Regions from separate parts of the Homo sapiens genome. Here regions 1 and 2 are each linked to region 3. Evidence: promoter capture Hi-C in 16 types of primary human blood cells and fetal thymus (Javierre and others, 2016). All regions are on one chromosome and are shown on one strand. Each heading gives the region's core, a stretch centred on a gene start or on the middle of the fragment in contact. The rest is flanking DNA. Distances are from core to core; before and after follow the strand shown.

What was found. The method cuts DNA at HindIII sites, captures the fragments that hold promoters and counts their contacts. A CHiCAGO score of 5 or more calls a contact.
Region 1: a contact is called between the fragment with the promoter of RAB40A here and the fragment with the promoter of TMEM31 in region 3, in 11 of 17 cell types (megakaryocytes, activated CD4 T cells, M1 macrophages and 8 more). The highest score is 8.0, in megakaryocytes.
Region 2: a fragment that was not itself captured here is called in contact with the fragment with the promoter of TMEM31 in region 3 in 11 of 17 cell types (naive CD8 T cells, non-activated CD4 T cells, fetal thymus and 8 more); the score reaches 8.8 in naive CD8 T cells.

What each region holds. Positions count from the first base shown.
Region 1 is chrX:103,516,870-103,521,274 of GRCh38, forward strand. It overlaps RAB40A (RAB40A, member RAS oncogene family), which reads right to left and starts at 2,620. Exons shown (of 3, transcript NM_080879.3): 1 at 2,501-2,620; 2 at 505-656. It overlaps LL0XNC01-250H12.3 (a long non-coding RNA gene), which reads left to right. Exons shown (of 6, transcript NR_188440.1): 6 at 779-1,074. The HindIII fragment of the contact is 4,467 bases long and covers 1,695-4,405 here.
Region 2 is chrX:103,549,518-103,554,051 of GRCh38, forward strand. All of the region lies in intron 1 of LINC02589 (long intergenic non-protein coding RNA 2589), which reads right to left. Among named protein-coding and RNA genes, the nearest start is that of LINC02589, 3.2 kb to the right of the region's middle. The HindIII fragment of the contact is 205 bases long and covers 2,342-2,546 here.
Region 3 is chrX:103,708,533-103,712,590 of GRCh38, forward strand. It overlaps TMEM31 (transmembrane protein 31), which reads left to right and starts at 2,377. Exons shown (of 3, transcript NM_182541.2): 1 at 2,377-2,544; 2 at 3,704-3,828. The coding sequence starts at 3,727. It also overlaps the pseudogene GLRA4. The HindIII fragment of the contact is 10,178 bases long and covers 1,776-4,058 here.

The sequences.
Region 1 (4,405 bases), core at 1,370-3,869, 190 kb before region 3:
ATGTGGATGAAACATTCTAAGTACATGACAAGGTATAAGATATAATCTAACTTTGCTTTTTAATGAACCCTTTACAGCTGGCCCAGACCCAATTCCTTAACAATGCATTTGAGTAGAAATGCCATACTTGCAGCATCTTAAATGACGTTATATGCCAGGGTCTACTCAAGAGCTTTCTTTAGACTTCTTTAACCTGCATGTCAACCACTCTGTCCAAAACTTATGAAATTATACGCTCAAAGAACACTTTAATACCTGGCAAAGTAATCCCCACTTTTATCATTCAGTCTTTGTATGCATGATAGGAATAATAATAAAAGACATAAATAGTTACAGGGCACACGGTAGATAAATTGGTTGATACAGATCATGCAACCAGCAAGTAATGGTTATCAGGGTCAAATCCAAGTCCTTCTCACCCAAAAGCCCCCTCCCCTAACCACTATTTCTATACTGAGTATCCTTCTGTGTTAGACCAGAGGCCAACAGAGGGAAGAGACTCACCCCAAAAACCACAGTCAGTTGATGGGTCGAGTAACTAGGGTACAAATCTGATGACTCCTGTCTTCTGTCTAGCTGACTCATTATTATTCTTTGCTCTTCTGTACTATTTCTTCCTCCCATGGCTCAATAAGAACTCCTTCACCCACGTCACACTAGAAAGAAAATAAGAGAGCAGAGAGTACATGGAATCAAAGGAATGATAAGATAAAACCAACATTCATTTATTGCTACTATATTTCTAAATGCTCTCTGTTTCAAATCTTCTATTTCATAGGGCACAATTATTTTATCTTGGAACCAACAATCTTCGGAGAATGTATCCCAAAGATACAATTCAAAAAGATAAAAAGGCAGAAGCACAAGGTCATTCTTGGCAGAACAAATTGTAACAGCAGAAGACTGGAAATAAGACAGATGTCCACCAATAAAGGACTGACTGAATAATCTAAGGTGCATCTACATCCTAGATTTCAATGCCGGTATAACAAGCAAGGAAGATTCCCTCTCTCTGCTGCTATGTAGTGATTTCCAGGATATACCATTAAGTGAATAAAGCAAAGTGCAGAAAAATGTGTAGAGCTGCTGTTGTCCCATACCATACCCACTGGCCACTCATGGCTATTTAAGTTAACTAAATTTAAATGGAATTTTAAATTCACTTCCTCAGTCACACTCACCACATTTTAGGTGTTTAATAGTCACAGGTAGCTAGTGGCTACTATGTTGGACAGTTGAGACATAGAATATTTTCACCTTTGTAGAAATTCTATTGGACTCCACCAGTGTAGAATATGTCACCTTATATATATGGAATAGGAGAAAACTAATAGAAACATTCTATTTGCTTATATTTTTAAAATTGGAAAGTTTTAATGAAAATTGATTTAAAAAATCATTACCTATAAAGAGAAGGAAAAACAGCCCAGGACAGAAGCCAATAATGTCTTTTCCCTTAAAAATATAATATATATACACTGGCTCCATGCACTAGAAAGGTGAAGAAACATGATAGACCCAGTAGCAATGAGCAACTCTAGTGCCCATATTGAATCCACTTAAAACACATCACACTGAAAGGAACTAGGTTATCTTAGAGAAATGACTGAGTTTAGGTCTGTGTAGCCATTCTACTAGATGAATCTGGACCAAACTATCATGCCAGAGAGTGCGTCAAAAAGACTCAGAAGCCAAGCTTAAGGGGCTCTCGCTGGACAAAGATGAAGCAATTTGAACATTAAATAAAATAATGACTACTATGGATTAAAACACATTATAATATAAAAACTTCTACAGCTCATGATGACACTCTAAAAGAAAAATAAAATAAAACAAACAATATCAACTCATTGCTTGCCTTTGGAGAACCCTAGGGAAACAACTCATTGTTTTGAAAAGTGGAAATATTGCAAAAGAATTAGGCACTCATCCAACCCTTTCTATACATACTATCCCTCAGTGTAACCTAATGGTTTATGAAAGTTTATTTAATAGAATAATTCCAGCTAATAAAGCAGAGAAAATTATAGAATTAGAATATCATCCTTTTATGACCTTTAATGAATATAGAACTAAGCAACAATCCTTAGACGCTGCAGAAAAATCGAGGTGAAAAAGGGATGGGAAATTTTATAATGGATGGATCAGCTTAACAATACTTGAACATAGTAATTAATCTTAACATCACAAGAGGAGAGACAATTAGACACAATGAGCCCCCTGTGTAACACTATAGGAATAAACAATACCACATATGAAGTACTTCTGACCAAAACAAATCTAAATTGAATCAAGCCTCTGAATCTAACACCATTTTGTTAAATTTTTTTATTATACTTTTAAGTTCTGGGATACATGTGGAGAATGTACAGGTTTGTTACATAGGTATACACGTGCCATGGTGGTTTGCTGCACCCATCAACCCGTCATCTACATTAGTTATTTCTCCTAATGGTAATATAAAAAGAGAAAGAAATACTTGGAATTTGATTTGGAAAACCTTTCTCCTGTAGCCAGTCCACCTCCATGTGCTTGATACAGTTGACACTTCTTACCCTACAGGAGATTATTCAGCCTATCAGCCAATCTAGAAAATAAAATCATGAGGATCCATGTTTGGTGGTATAGGAACTATTAAGTTTATATTGGAACATTTTGCAAAACATGTTAAAATTAAGTTAAAATGAATGTGGCTCGAAATTAGGATTGTAAGATTTCGGATTTCAACTCAGTTTCCACAGAGAAGTTTGGTTGACCTAAATTTTAAATATGTTAGGAATAAGCCCCTGCTGCACATCATTATATTCAAAGTTCTCTGTAGCTTCATTTGTGAAAACAAATGGATGAATGGGTATATATTTGTAAAACATGTCTTTGGGATAAAAAGGCATTTTGAGTTCTTGGTTTTCAGGATGTTCCTTCTGGTATTCTTCAAATAAATGCTTCTATAGTATTATAAAGATAATTTCATTAACCTGCTAAAATGGGAATGTATTTGTCTATAGCTACAAGGTAAAAAGTGTTATGAATAATAATTTTAAGATGACAGATATTAAATAGTTCAAATATTATTGATAATAAGATTTTTTTAAAAAAGAAAATATATGTTCATCCAAAAGAATGAACATGAACATTCATAACACCATTATTCATGAGATGTCAAAAACTGGAAAATACACAAATCTCCATCACAGATAAATATAGTGTGAAATATCCAAATAATATAATACTTTACACCAATGAGAATAAGCAATCTACAATATAGACCACAATAAATATTAATTTCACATACATTATGTTGACTGAAAGAAGCAAGACACAAAAGAGCACATGCTGTATGATTCCAAGAATTTCTCTTCTAACCTCCCAATAGAGATTGGGGCAGGAGAGGAATATCAACAACTCATTTCCTTTTATTTCAAGGTACTTAGTGTCTTTTTATGTTATCTGTAGCTTAACCTCAGATAAGTGAAGCAACTTTCTTCTGAGCCCTTGAAAAGTGATTAATTACACATAAGATGAAAAGCTAATACTATATCTGATGGACAGGCAATGTGGTGTGAGAGATTCGGGCAAGAATCCTAAATGGATGCTCAGTCTGCACCAAATCACACCGCAGTCACTGAGTCACCATGGTAACCATTCTGGCCAAGGAAAGCTGAGAAAAAACAAACACCACTATCCCGAGCTTGTTCCTAATATGTACTAGGAACTAAATAGGATTGACATGATGCACAGTAATTAACCTCAAGTAGTCCTTACAATAAAAATTCCTGACAGCTTCAGTGACATACAAATGTATACATACTCACATACATATATGCTTGCTCACCCTCTCACCACTCCAAATTCCAAGAATTTATTGAGGTTGATTTACTGGTGGGTAAAGAAGTAAATCTCGCCAGGCATGGTGGCTCGTGGCTATAATCCCAGCTACTCAGATGGCTGAGGTAGGAGGATTGCTTGAGGTTAGGAGTGTGAGAGAAGTCTAAACAACATAGCAAAACTCTGTCTCTGAAAAATGTTTTTAAGTTTAGCTGAGCATGGGGGCACACACCTGTAGTCAGTTATTCAGGAGGCTGAGGTGAGAGGATTGCTTGAGCCTGGGAGTTCAAGGCTGCAGTGAGCTATGATTGCACCATTGCACTCCAGCCTGAGCCACACATTGCAACAAAATCATTTCTGACCACACATATAAAGTTGAAAGCTACTAAACTATGTTCTTTTGGTGTGATTTCTGAAGATGACCTGTAGAATTGTCTCTGGAACATTTTCCTCCATAGTTTCAATATATCGCCAATGACTTGTAAAAGCAGATACGGAAATACAGGTAAACACAGGTTAAGGATCAAATACCTTTTCCATCCTAGAGTAAGCTGTGCTTTCAACCAAAAAAATGCCTCAC
Region 2 (4,534 bases), core at 1,194-3,693, 160 kb before region 3:
GGCTTCCACTGGCCAATTCTGGAATAATTTGAGCATCAAATAAATATTTATAATAACAAATGTTATATCTTTGAGCAAAACAGGAATCTATGAATCACAGTAATATAAATAAATAGCTGGGTGTGGTGGCTCACACCTGTAATCCCAGCACTTTGGGAGGCCGAGACAGGTGGATCACCTGCAGTCAGTAGTTCGAGACCAGCCTGGCCAACATGGGGAAACCCCGTCTCTACTAAACATACAAAAATTCACTGGGCATGGTGGCGGGTGCTTGTAATCCCAGCTACTCAGGAGGCTGAGGCAGGAGAATAATTTGAACCTAGGAGGCGGAGGTTGCAGTGAGCCAAGATCGCGCCATTGCACTCCAGCCTGGGCGACAAGAGCGAAACTCTGTCTCAAAAAAAAAAAAAAAAAAAAAAACCATATATATCTAACAGTCAAATGTCAATTAATAAATCTAAACAAAGTGACAGAATTATAAAAGCAACCCTGACAACTATCACAGTAGTAAATGATTCAAGCAAGAATCGTAAATAGATTTTCATTCTGCACCAAATCCCATAGCAATCACTGAGTCACCATGGTAACCATGCTGGCCAGGGAAAGCTGGGAGGAAAAAACAAAACAAAACAAAAAACCAACCACCTCCTCGATCTTATTCCTAACATGTGCTAAGAACTGAATAGGACTGACATGATGCACAGTAATTAACCTCAATTTTTTCTCACAATAAACATTCCCGGCAGCTTCAGCAATATACACCTTCATACATACCTAGATACCCACATACATACATGCTCTCTCCCTCTTTTTCTCATCACCCAAGTATCCAAGAATTCATCAAGGTAGATTTGTTTGGGAGTATAAAAAGAAAACTCCACAATTAAAATCTACCCACACACAAAGTCAAGAGCTACAAAACTATTTTATTTTAGTAATTCATTTTTCTGGAGATGATCTTTAGAAAAATGTCTCAGTGACATTTTCTCCCTGGTTTCAGTATATTACCAATGACTTATAAAAGCTGATAGTGGAAACACTGGCAAATGTATGCTGTGATGACTAATTTTATGTGTCAACTTGGCTGGGTCATAATGCCCAGATATTTGGTCAAACGTTATTTTGGATGTTTCTGTGAGGGTGTTTTTGGATGAAATTTACATTTAAATTGGCAGACTAAGTAAAGCAGATTGCCCTCCCCAGTGTGGGTGGGCCTCATCCAGTCAGCTGGAGTCCTAAATAGAATAAAAAGCTGATATCCTCCAAAGAAGAGGGAATTCTGCCAGCTCACTCTTCAGATTTCATCTGTAATATTGGCTCTTCCTGGTTTATCAGTACACCGCCTTTGGACTTTAACTTCAACTCTTTCCTGAGTCTGAAGCCTGCTGGACTCCCCCATCAAATTTTGGACTCACCAAGCGTCCAAAATCACATACACCAGTTCCTTAAAATAAATATCTTTATATGTATATATATAAAGATACATATATAAAGATATATGGATATATAGATATCTTATTGGTTCTATTTCTCTGGAGAACCTTGACTAATACAGACATTAAGTATTAAGCATCTTTTCTATCCTAGAGTAGCCTGTGCTTTCAACCAAAAAGGTTCCCCAGCAGCTAGTATTAAACACTCAGCTTCTGACAATTCAGTAAAAATATAATACATTGAAATTGCAATTGAAAATACTACCATTAGGCCAGGCATGGTGGCTCATGCCTATAATACCGGCACTTTGGGAGGCCAAGGTGGGAGGATTGCTTGGGACCAGGAGTTTGGGACCCACCTGGACAACAAAGCAAGACCCTACCTCTATTAAAAAAATTTTTTTTAATTTTTTAATTAGCCAGGCATGGTGGCATGCACTTGTGGTCCCACCTGCTCGGTAGGCTGAGATGGGTGGATCACTTGAGCCCAGAAGCCCAAAGCTATAGTGAGCTGTGATCATACCACTGCACTCTAGCCTAAAAAAAGAAATACTGCCATTTATAATAGCATCAAAAAGTGTAAAATACCTGAGGATAATCTGTCCACATGTGTGCAAGGCCTGTACATTGAACACCACAAAACATTGAGGAGAGAAGTTAAAGAAGACCTAAATAAATGGAGAGAAATGCCATCATCATGAGTCAGAACACTCAGTATTGTTAAGATATCTACTCTCCTCAAACTGATGTATAGATTCTATGCAACTCCAATAGAAATGTTAGCATATATTTTTAAGAAGAAATCAATAAACTTATTCCAGAAATCATGTGGAAATGCAAATGACCCTAAACTATGAAAAACAACATTGTAAAAGAACAAAGTTGGAGGAAAAACACTACCTAATTTAAGCTTCATTATAAACTTACATTAACCAAAACAGTGCACTATTGCCTTCAAGGAAGAAATGTATATCAAAGGAACAAAGTATAGAGTCCAGAAATAGACCCACAAATATAAGGACAACTGATTTTTGACAACAATGCAAAGACAATTCAGTGCAGAAAGATCATCCTTTCAACAACTTGTGCTGGAACAGGTAGATAACAAAAATAAGCTTTTATCTATACACCACATCATAAAAAACTCAAAGTGGATCATAAAAGAAGATTTAAATTTAAAAGCTAGAACTATAAATTTTCAAGAAGAAAACACAAGAGAAAATTGTTGCAGTCTTGGCTTCAGAGAAGATTTCTTAGATATGACACAAACAGCAACATCCAAAGCATAACAAATTTGGAACTATTCATATATACAACAATATGGATAAATCTAAAAATAATTAGGTCAAATATGTAAAATAACATGAAATTTCAGGATTCCCAAATTCATCATGCCAAGGGAAAAGTTAAGCCTGGGAAATGAATTGTGCAACATTACCAACCTTTGTCCCCAGATAACTGTAATTTCACAACCCTGTGTCATAGCGTAATACATAATCCAGATTCCCACAACAGTAAAAGGCATTATACCTTCCCAGATGACCTTCCTCAAATATTGCTCACAAGGAAATTCCTTGCTAGCCCCTAAATCTTTCAGGATACATATCCCCCTATAAAACCAGCACATGCCAATTGTAACCTTAAGTCTGCAACCTAAGTTTAACTCCTAAAACTGAGTTTTGTTAAATCTTACACTGACAGTGTCAGTTACAAGCTTATCTTTCCAGAACAAAGACAAGATCAATCACTCTTCCACCTACCCTGAAACGAATACATAATTGACTCTTTCCTCTCTCTTTTCAAATCTTATCTTATGTAAAACTCAGATTTACTGACCGCTAATTAGAGCCTCACAAGAATGTAACCATTTGCCTCACTGCCTACCCTCTCTCCCTTTTTCCCTCTTGCTTGCTCTCTGCCCTTAAATACTGAGTTCCCAAACCCCTCTTTGTAAAGCACAAGTCAGAGATGCTCCTGTGACTTGCAGTTTTCCCAGGCATGTCCTCAAACTTTGGCTCAATAAACCTCTAGTGATTGAGACACTTGCCTCAGTCACTTTTTTTGGGGTTAACAAATGAATTAGGTCAGACAAAGGAGAATAAGCATCCTATGATTCCATTTACTTAAAAGGGCAAGAAACAAAAACTAATCTATGGTAAGAGGAGACCAGTGATTGTCCGGGAATGGGACAGGTTGGCATGGAGAGGGAAGCTAGAGACAGATGGAGAGGATTACAAAGGTGCATAAGGAAGCTTTTTGAGGTGATGAATATGTTCATTATCTTGACTATAATATTGGATTCACCAGAGAGAGCATACATATGTTAAAACTTATTAAACTATATATTTTAAACATGTACGGTATATCGTATGTCAACATGGCTCAAAGAAAGTATTTGAAATACATTTGTATAAGTTTTTGATGCAATTAAATCATCCAAAAGATTCCAACTACTACACTCTTGTTATATTACCAGATCATTACTATGTCTGATCAAATTGTTCTGCACTACATACAACCATAATAATCACTTGCAGTGTTTAAATATTTTTGGAAAAGTGGATGTTCATTTCTTTTTGAAGTACAAAAATAAAAATATTACATTCTAAGAAAATAATGATGATGATACTTAAGAGTAACTGTTTACTTTAGGGAACATGGCTTAGTATCATTATAATAGAGCGAATTCTAGGGTAATTCTTATTTCTGAAACTATTAAGGTATAGTAACTGACATTTTAACTAACACTTGCAAAATTTCTGGCTTAAAAAATCATTATAGGATGGAAAAATACCATGGTCACCAGGAGATAATTTATATAATTTATATTACAATCTCAAAATGCTAGAAAGACCTAACGACTGCATATTTCCATATCCATTTGAGAGATACATAGGAATCACTGATGATTATTTATATAGGCAGAAAAATATATGTAAATCTATAGCAAATGCATGTTAAACATCCAGTTGCTTCCCCAAATGAACTATTCATTGCTTTGTGACAATGAAAGGCATCTTTAACATGGGCCTCAGAAGCTACCACAAAGCACATAGCTGCTGATGGAAGGAAATTCCACCTGCTAAACCTCTTCTCCAATG
Region 3 (4,058 bases), core at 1,127-3,626:
GGTGTTCCTAAGACTTGGGTCTTTCAGGGCTGAAACTGGGGAAGTGCAAGGCAAATCAGGAAGAGCTGGTCATCCTGTGGCTACCTGAGGTATTTATTATAAGTTATAAGAAAAAAATATGTGTATATTGTATAGGTATGACATAGATATATACAAAATGTGGATAAAGTAGATTTTAAACACTCTGTCTCTCTCAGTTAGAGGGACACCACAGGGTCTTTATCGTGGGACCTCTGCAGCTATGGCAACACACTGAAAAGTGGCTTTGCCAGGCACGGTGGCTCACACCTGTAATCCCAACACTTTGAGAGGCCGAAGCTGGCGGATCACGAAGTCAGGAGTTCGAGACCAGCCTGACCAATATGGTGAAACCTCTTCTCTACTAAAAATACAAAAATTAGTCAGGCGTGGTGGCGGGCACCTGTAATCCCAGCTACTCAGTAGGCTGAGGCAGGAGAATCGCTTGAACCCACGAGGCGGAGGTTGCAGTGAGCAGAGATTGCGCTATTGCACTCTAGCCTGGGTGACAGAGCGAGACTCCATCTCAAAAAAAAAAAAAGAAAAAGAAAAAAAAAAAGAAAAGTGGCTTTGTGTATGAGATGTTGGTGTTGTAGGTCCTAGTAACCCTTGATAATGACATGACTAGAAACTGACCTGTCATCATAAAGACAGGCCTTGGTTCACCTCACATGTACTCTGTAATTCATTTTTACACTATTCTGACAAAGGAGGTTGTGCTGGACCCATTTTCGAGGTGAAGAACCAGAGGCAAACAAAATATTTTGCAATAATTTTAAAATGAGGGGAGTAAGTAAAATGGTTTTCTCCTTTGATTTCCAGTTCAGGGTCCCTCAGATGACCCTGTTGCCCAGTACTCACCCTGATCCCCTGAGCCCTACCCTGGCTAGAGGATGTAAGCAAAGGATGTTGGCAAAAAAGCTCTGAGGGGGAAAGTTGGATCCAACTGCTATTTCTGTTTCTATAGATCTAATTATTTTCCCTTTTCTCCAATCATAATAAATCTAAAGGGAGTTATTTGGACACATTTCCCAGGCTGGAAAAAGCCATTTCACACAGGAGAGAAAATATGGCCAACAGAGTAAGCTGGTCTTGGCTTTTTGTGACTTTAACATACTGCACCTGTTGTAGCTGGAGGAGCAAAGATGAATGGCTTGAAATCCAGGGGTGGGGCATCCTGCATTTGGGTATTCTCTATTTAGGCCAAATTCTGAGGGGTGTTTGTGTGTGGGGTGTGTGTGTGTGTGTGTGTGTGCTGGAAAGGAACATTGGAGCCTTAAATACCACTTTGTGGCTTACATGCCTATTAAAATAGAACTTTTTTTCCCCTGGCTATCTATAGGGGAGAAGGACTGAGAAGCTAGAGAGGGAAGATATCTCAAAACCACGCTAAGGAGGGAATGCACAGTGTAGGAGGTAAAGTGTGGAGATGGGAAAGAGTGATTTGTATTGAAGTGAGAGGGGCTAGAAAAAAAGGGATTAGAGAATGGGGAATGAAGAGGGTGCTGGAGGATGAAGAGAGGTGGGCAGGGTTCTGGGACCAAGCCCTTGAGAGGACTGGGCAGTATTTTGAAATTTCTTCCAGTTATCAAGTTATTCTATTGATCATGGCAAAGCTTTTGCTCTGTCCAGTTTGAAAGACAGTCCTCTCCAATCAGCCTGTAAAAGTTGGTGAGCTGGGTTACATGACTGCTGTGTCCAGAGCCTGGTGCTAAGGCCTGCTGAGGAGATGAAAAAGAGCTTCCCTTTCCTGGGGAAGCTTATGGACTAGCCGGGAAGACAGTGTAGGATTGCATGGGTAAAAAGTAAACCACTTTAGGCAGTGACATGAAAGGGGGCCACCATGCTATGGAGTTGTTGGTTGAGGAGAGAGTTGAGAAGAAAAGATGTGAATGGCTGGCTGGTTCCTAGAACACTCCTAACTGACTCTTGGCTAAGGGTTCCCTGGAGATCACATGGATTTTCTCCCTGCCCTCTCAGACTGAAGAATTCTTTTTCCCTAGCTGGAGCAGTAGGGCCCGGACAGAGGTTCTAGAAATGGATGAACTCTCCAACAATTTTTTCAGCCTGCTTGGTGCCTCCAAAATACCTGCTACAGGTCCTGGGATAACAGTGACTTTAGAAGACTCAAAAAAGGACATGACGAATGGCACGGGTTTGATTTTCAGTTTTATTCACGTTAATAATAATAATAATTCACGTTAAAAAAAGCCTCAGCCCACTTTTAGGCAGGCCCCAGAGTCCTAAGCAAGGCCCAGGCTGCTGTTGTAACTTTGTAATAATTGAGCACTGGTCATGACAGACTCCATTATGAGCTCAGGATCAGCCTATATATATGAGCAGGAGGGGACAGGCTGCAGGCAGTTGCGGGTTGCAGGAGTTCAGGAAAGGAGGTGGGACTAGAGTCAACCTGGAATAGCTCTACAGTAACAATGGCAGCCTTTTTGTTGCTGGGACATCCATACAGGCAACTTAGCTGGTGAAAGGACTCTGGATTGGTTGGCAGTCTGCTTTTTTTTTTCCAAGGTAGGCATTGAGAAGGCACCAAGATCAAAACTCCTATAAAGATAAGATCTTGGTACCTGCAGGCAGATTTGTTCGACACAGCTAAAGAGGGGGTGGGGACAGTTAGCTTAGAAAATGGAGTGTCCTGGCCGGGCGCGGGGGCTCACGCCTGTAATCTCAGCACTTTGCGAGGCCGAGGCGGGCGGATCACGAGGTCAGGATATCGAGACCATCCTGGCTAACACGGTGAAACCCTGTCTCTACTAAAAATACAGAAAATTAGCCGGGCGTGGTGGCGGGCGCCTGTAGTCCCAGCTACTCAGGAGGCTGACGCAGGAGAATGGCGTGAACCCGGGAGGCGGAGCTTGCAGTGAGCCCAGATCACGCCACTGCACTACAGCCTGGGCGACAGAGCGAGACTCCGTCTCAAAAAAAAAAAAAAAAAGAAAAAAGAAAATGGAGTGTCCTTTTTTCTTGCCCTTCTGCTAGGTGTATACACATATTTTTCTAACCCTTGGTATGGGTTAGGAAATGCTTTTAGGTTTCTTGAAGAATGAGTCCTACTCGAGGACATGTAGTTGTGGATTAGTCCACTAGAGGGCGTACTGCCCAGGGACCAACTAAAGGACTAAAGGGTAGGGACTGATAAATTCAAACCACTAGATGAGACAGGAGCCCTGCCCTCAGCAGAAAGGAACCTTAGCAAGGGACATGAAACCAAGGAGGTAGTTTGTGAGATATTTTTAGTGCGGACATACGGTAGGGGTGCCCCTGGAGCAGCTGAGGTGGGAGGTGGTGTGTTGAGGAGAGAACATTCCTTGTGCTAGTGTGGCCCAGACAAGCTAGAGTCAGGATTTTAAGAGTGGGTTCACAGCATTGTTTCCCATCCCCCAGAGGTCATTATGCTCTTGCCTCTCTGGCTTTAGAGCCTCCAGATTAGACAGAAAACATGGAGTCAGAGCTGAAGACAGACCAGAACTCTGTGTCTCTAATGGTTAAGCAACCAGTATGTAGCTCAGTTAAGCCTTTCAGCTTTGCTCATAATTGGACACTTGCTTCTGTGAGGCTGGCCCAGGCACCTCTGTTGTCATGACAACTTACCTAGCACCTATTGTCTGGGCAATTGGGGGTAAACTGCCTCTGTTGTCATGACGACAAGATTTCTTTTATATTTCCCCAGGTGATCACTTTACTGTAGAAGAAATGAGGTTAACAGAAAAGAGTGAGGGAGAACAACAACTCAAGCCCAACAACTCTAATGCACCCAATGAAGATCAAGAAGAAGAAATCCAACAGTCAGAACAGGCAAGTGGTGGTTTCTCAATTCCAACTTAGTTATGGGGGTCCTCTTATAATGCTCCCCTAGAAAGACACCAATGCCTGATTGTTGAATTCTTAACCACCAATTAGTGTATGACAACCTGGGCTACCTTCCTCCCGGTTGTGGGGGAGCAATTACTACTCAAAGCAATCTCTTTTTATTTATTTATTTATTTACTTATTTTTTGAGATGGAGTCTCACTCTGTTGCCCAGG